2 separate regions of the Homo sapiens genome follow, and region 1 is linked to region 2. The links are contacts of gene promoters, found by promoter capture Hi-C in human tissues and cell types (Jung and others, 2019). All regions are on one chromosome and are shown on one strand. Each heading gives the region's core, a stretch centred on a gene start or on the middle of the fragment in contact. The rest is flanking DNA. Distances are from core to core; before and after follow the strand shown.

Region 1 (3,457 bases), core at 695-3,194, 1.3 Mb before region 2:
TGACTTTGTGTATTGCTATTGATATGATTTGGGTGTCCCCACCCAAATCTCATCCTGAATTGTAATCCTCATAATCCCCATAACCTTCACATGTAAAGGGAAAGAACAGGTGGAGGTAATTGAATCATGGAGGTGGTTTCCACCATGTTGTTTTTGTGATAATGAGTGAGTTCTCATGATATCTGATGGTTTTATAATTGGTTCTCCTCCTGTTTGCTCGGCACTTCTCTTTCCTGCTGCCTTGTGAACAAGGTGCCTTTCTTCCCCGTTGCCTTCTGCCATGATTGTAAGTTTCCTTAGGCATTCCCCAGCCATGCTGAACTGTGAGTCAATTAAACCTCTTTTCTTTATAAATTACCCAGTCTCAGGTATGTCTTTTTCAGCAGTGTCATAATGGATTAATACAATAAATTGGTACTGAAGTAGTGAGGTGCTGCTGAAAAGATACCCAAAAATATGGAAGCAACTTTGGAACTGGGTAACAGACAGAGTTTGGAACAGTTTGGAGGGCTAAGAAGAAGACAGAAAAATGTGGAAAAGTTTGAAACTTCCTAGAGACTTGTTGAATGGGTTTGATGAAGATACTGATATTTATATGGACAATGAAGTCCAGGCTAAGGTTGGTTTAGTTAGAGATGAAGAACTTGTTGGGAACTGGAATAAAGGTGACTCTTGCTATCCTTTAGTAAAGAGACTGGAAGCTTTTTGTCCCCACCCTAGAGAACTGTGGAACTTTGAACTTGAGAGAGATGATTTAGGGTATATGGCAGAATAAATTTCTAAGCAGGAAAGCATTCAAGATGTGACTTGGGTGCTCTTAAAAGCATTCAGTTTTATATATTCACAAAGAGATGACTTGGAATGGGAACTTATGTTTAAAAGGGAAGCAGGGCATAAAAGTTTAGAAAACTTGCAGTCTGATGATGTGATATAAAAGAAAAACCCATTTTCTGAGGAGAAATTCAAACCAGCTGCAGAAATTTGCGTAAGTAACTAGCCAAATGTTAATCGCCAAGACAATGGAGAAAATGTCTCCAGGGCATGTCAGAGGTCTTCACGGCAGCCCCTTCCATAACAGGCCCAGAGGCCTAGGAGGAATAAATTGTTTCCTGGGCTGGGCCTAGGGCCTTTCTGCTTTGTGCAATTTAGAGATTTGGTGCCCTGCATCCCAGCCATGGCTAAAAGGGACCAACGTACAGCACAGGCTATTGCTTCAGTGGGTGCAAGCCCCAAGCCTTGGTGGCTTACATGTGGTGTTGGGCCTGTGAGTACACAGCAGTCAAGAACTGAGGTTTTGTAACTTCTGCCTAGATTTCAGGGGATGTATGGAAATGCCAGAATATCTAGGCAGAAGTTTGCTGCAGGGGTGAAGCCCTCATGGAGAACCTCTGCTAGGGCAATGCAGAAGAGAAATGTTGGGTTGGAGCCCCCACACAGAGTCCCCACTGGGGCACTGCCTAGTGGAGCTGTGAGAAGAGGGCCACCATTCTCCAGACCCCAGAATGGTATCAGTAGATCCACCGACAGCTTTTACCATGCACCTGGAAAAGCTGAAGACACTCAATGCCAGCCTATGAAAGCAGCTGGGAGGGGGGCTGTACCCTGCAAAGCCACAGGGTTGGAGCTTCCCAAGGGCATGGGAGCCCACCTTTTGCATCCGCAGAACCTTGATGTGGGACATGGAGTCAAAAAAGATCACTTTGAAGCTTTAAGGTTTGACTGCCCCACTGGATTTTGGACTTGCTTGGTGTCCATTTTTTGGACCAATTTCTTCCATTTGGAGTGGGTGTATCTACCCAATGCCTCTACCCCCATCGTATCCAGAAAATAACTAACTTGCTTTTGATTTTACAGGCTCATAGGTGGAAGGGACTTTCCTTATCCCAGATGAGACTTTGGATTTATACTTTTGGGTTAATGCTGGAATTAATTAAGACTTTGAGGGACTGTTGAGATGGCATAATTGGTTTTGAAATGTGTAAGGAACATGAGATTTGGGAGGGGCCTGGGGCCTGGCTGTGTCAGATTCCGGAATAATGAAAATAATAGACAAGTACCTTTCTGCATGATCTGAAGCTTTGGATTGATTTATGAAAGTATTTCTTAGACTTACGACGGGAATGATTTACCCGAGTAGTTTTTCCATTTTAATTCACCAAAGTCATATATTCTTGAGTTGTACTTAAGGAATCAAATTCTTCTGTGATTAAAAGATGCAACAACTTATAAGTTTACATAATTTTGCTAGAAACTCATGCATTTAAAAGCCTTCCATTTATTGAACTGTTTCTAGAAAGAAATTTAAATATATATTTCTATATACATATGCATACATACATAATAATATGCCCAATACTATGCTGTGTTTTACCTTACAGATATATAGATAGGTAGATAGATTCATTGAGATTGATTTTAAAAAATATGAAATATATAATTGCCTTAAAATTATTATGAGTCTAGTAGTTCAGTACCGGGCGTTACAATTTGAGTTATGCTAAACAAAGTGTAAGCCTTATATAAAGAAATCGAGTATCAGGGTCTGGATCTGTCTGGATCCTAACCCTATATTTTTCAGATTAGCAAAGTAACTTGCTTACCATTTCCCTAAAGTCTTTTTTCAGTTTATACATCTGGGGCTTGTATTGGTCACACCCTGGAGACTAGTTTAAGGTCTAGTAGACTACATTTCCCTAACCTGAAAATTTTCCCACTTTTATTAGTATGTGCCCATGTAAAAAATAAAAATTAAAAAAAAGATAAGAAGACAGAAAACTGAAACATAAATTTTAGTAAATCTCAGTACCAAAGATAACCATTTATTAAAATAATAATTCAGCCAGGTGCGATGGCTCATGCCTGTAATCCCAGCACTTTGGAAGGCTGAGGCGGGCAGATCACCTGAGGTCTGGTGTTCAAGACCAGCCTGACCAACATGGTGCTACCTTGTCTCTAATAAAAATACAAAATTAGCTGGGCGTGATGGCACATGCCTCTAATCCCAGCTACTTGGAGGCTGAGGCAGGAGAATCACTTGAACCCAGGAGGTGGAAGTTGCAGTGAACTGAGATCGCACCATTGCACTCCAGCCTGGGCAACAAGAGCGAAACTCCATCTCCAACATAATAATAATAATACTAGTGCATAAACATCCCAATATTTAACACACACATTCTATGTAAATGTATTCCATATATACTCATATATACATCAAGGAAAAACTTCAGCCCATATTCAGAGTTTTAGAGGATTTTGTTTTTAATTTTTAAGAATGATGTTGTGGTGAACACATTTGTAACTATGCCTCATCATGAATATTCTATTAAGTAATTAGTATCAATTCAAAACAAGTTAGTAAGTTAAAACTAACTATGTTTGAAATGCTATTGAGAGAAGTTAAACAGCTTCTTGCAGCAATGCATCTCACAATATTTGGAATGGCTCTTCAATAAAAAGA
Region 2 (3,040 bases), core at 271-2,770:
CACTACTCATGCTAAGCACTGTGCAAAGTTCAGTTCCTGGCCCAGTGATATTCTCCTTTTACTACTTTTGAAAAATTTTAAAAATGCCATTACATAAAATATCATCCCTCCCAGGACCCCCGCGGTATGAAACTCCAGCTGAGTGGCAGTTCTTGCCTACAGCATTTACATTTGCACAGCCCAGCTTCAGCTCAACCCTGAGATGCCAAAATGACACCCTTCACCTTTCCTTCCAAATTGTTGTCTAGATTCTGTATTTTAAAAAATATTCTCATCATCAATAAGTGACCTGGTCCTAAAACCTGGAGTGATCTCTGACTTCTCCTGCTACCAAACACCTTGTCAGGAATCAGGGCCAAACAGTGTTATTGTATACATCCTCAATTGTTTATTTTTCTTGAAATTCTAAGCAACCTTCGTCTCTCCCCATTCTGTGAGCATCTCTCTCCAGCTCCAGTGACCAGTGGAGATTCTGTGTCAGGGCTCCAACCCCAGATTTCCCCTTCACATTGCCCTAGTAGAGGTTCTTCATGAGGGATCCAACCCTGCAGCATACTTCTGCCTGAACATCCAGGCATTTCCATACATCTTCTGAAATCTAGGCAGAGCCTCCCAAGCCCAAGCCTCAACTCTTACCCTCAGTGCATCTCCAGGCTTAACACCATGTGGAAGCCACCGAAGCTTGAAGCCACCAAGGCTTGAAGCTTGTACCCTCATGTTAGTCTTAGATTATAGTATCCTGCAGGTAAATACTCAGAACAACTTCCAGCACTTGAATATCCACTCCTTCCCCCACCCACATACTGGCAGAATTCATGTTGGGAGACTACATTTACTATGAACACACACCCCTGATTTGAAACAAGACTAGGATACATGGTAAAGAATGTTTATTCACTAAAGTTTTGACAGACTGAAGGCCATTATTTCAGATTGGAGATAGGAAACTTAAAAGAACTACATGGACATTGGGTAAAAGAACATGGGTTGAAATTTGCCTGGCAGTAGCCCAAAAGTAAATGGTCTTCGAGGTGCATGTGAAGGAACTGTAGGAGGGAAATGGGATAATTCACATCTCCACCAATAATTACATGTAGCCACACTAGCTTGGGGGATTTGAGGTGAGACATCTAAAATACTAAGTCATGGTGAGGGCTGGAAGACAAAAGAATGAATCACTTCATAGGAATGGCTGTGGGGAAGGGCTTGAAGGAATCATCCTCTGACTTCCATGTGAACCATGAACATTAAACATGGAGAAATGAGGAGCGGCGGCAGATCGGTTTGGGATGCATCTTCAGGGGATGCTGAAACAACAACAGCATTTGGTTTCCTCTACATCCCTGTCACCCCTCCCCCACAAGCCCAGGGATTGGTCAGCAGTGGTGCTTCGTGATGTCAAAGCCACCCTAGGACTGCCATTGGCTGGGACACTGCCTGTATGATCAAACAAAGCTCAAGGGTGTGGCTTTGCCTTGTCACCAGGAGGGTATATATAGGGAGGGCAAGAGCTCTGGGACATCCTCCTGGGAAGCTTCAATACAGCTGTGCAAGTCTGGAGTCTACAAGAGCCTACTATAGACATTCTACAACCAACCAGAATCATGGAACAGCCCACTTCAAGCATCAATGGGGAGAAGAGGAAGAGCCCCTGTGAATCCAACAATGAAAATGATGAGGTAAGATTGTTAGGTTTTGAAGGGAAGGTGAGGGTGAAAGAAAGACACACAGAGAAGGGACGGCTCAAACAGCAACACAGGAATATTGCAGACACCTGTGGAAGTGGGAGACCCGCTTAATGCCAGAGCCCACCGCCGCTTACAGCCTGGGGTGCTTGTAGGTAGGGGTGGGAGGGGCCTGGGCAGTATGGCTTGCTGCCCGGCAGGATATTGATAAGATGTTTTTATGATCAGGCTGTTTGGTCCTTTTTCCAGTGGGATGTCATTGTGGTGTTTCTTGGAACTTTGCCCAGCAAGATACCATAGGAAAGTTTCTTTAGTTGGACCTTTGTCCGTCTTGTGTTACGATGATTAGGCAAGATTTTTCTCAGCCTGAACCCCCGTGGAATGTTTCACTTTGATCAAGGTCTGAAAAATAGCAGGGTGCTTACTAAATGGTGGTTTGGACTCACATTCTTGCCTTCTACTTTAGTATAAAAGGAAGAGGGGCATTGTTGATTATCTGGCTGCTTCCTGCCGAATAGGGGAGCTGTAATCAGGGTTTGGGTTTTGAAGCAGTGGGTGTTGGACTTCAGAGTTGTTTTCCTGGAGGCACTGGTACCGGACTTGGCAGAGGAGAAGGATGGTATCAATGTGTTGCTGGGTGGCTGCCTGGACAGGGGAGTTTAGCCTTCGGGAGATAAAGCAGGATATGAAGGTGAGTATACATCGGCCAAATGTACTATCAGGAGGAGGAAGATTAACGGCCCTAAGAAAGGGACCACCTGCTATCCCAGTGCTGAGTGCATCAGAGATGCTTAGTTCTGCTAACACTAGAATGAGATGTACAGCCTGCTTAGTGTGTGTGGAGGAAGATGAGACAGAAGCTACTAAAGGAACCTGGATGGTCTGCTTGTTAGGCAAAATGTTAATGTTTAGATTAACAAAAAAGTTGTAGATTATGGCGGTTAACGAAAGTTGTAGGTTATGGTGGCAAGCCATGAGAAGGTGGGGGTTGAATTCTCCACAAACACTTTGTTTTAACTTTTATATTCCTCCAAGTTCAATAGCTGCCAGCAAGGGTAGCCCCACTGAAGGCCTGATAGGAAATGTTGGTGGTGGAGGAGGTGAAGGCTGCTTGGTTTTGGAGAGAGAGGGGGAAATGGGTTTTTGTAACTAATAGCCACTGTGGTCCTTACAGGGCAGAAGGATACAGGTTGCAGTTGAGGGAATTGTTTGTGCATGTTTTCCAGGGAGCGCCCTTGAGTTGGATACATGAAGAGTGGCTCTAGCCAAGAGGGGAGGCGTTGGTAAGAGGTATTTTATGGAATCAGAGTTGTAACATGTTTAGTTAAGAGGCTATGAGGTGAAGGAGGGTGACA

What was found. Contacts are between HindIII fragments. The study calls those that stand out against the background at their distance.
Region 1: a fragment that was not itself captured here is called in contact with the fragment with the promoter of SPANXN1 in region 2 in 1 of the 25 tissues and cell types used here (IMR-90 fibroblasts).

The regions. Positions count from the first base shown.
Region 1 is chrX:143,954,023-143,957,479 of GRCh38, forward strand. No RefSeq gene overlaps it. Among named protein-coding and RNA genes, the nearest start is that of SPANXN2, 230 kb to the left of the region's middle. The HindIII fragment of the contact is 5,954 bases long and covers 1-3,457 here.
Region 2 is chrX:145,245,983-145,249,022 of GRCh38, forward strand. It overlaps SPANXN1 (SPANX family member N1), which reads left to right and starts at 1,521. Exons shown (of 2, transcript NM_001009614.3): 1 at 1,521-1,679. The coding sequence starts at 1,605. The HindIII fragment of the contact is 8,684 bases long and covers 1-3,040 here.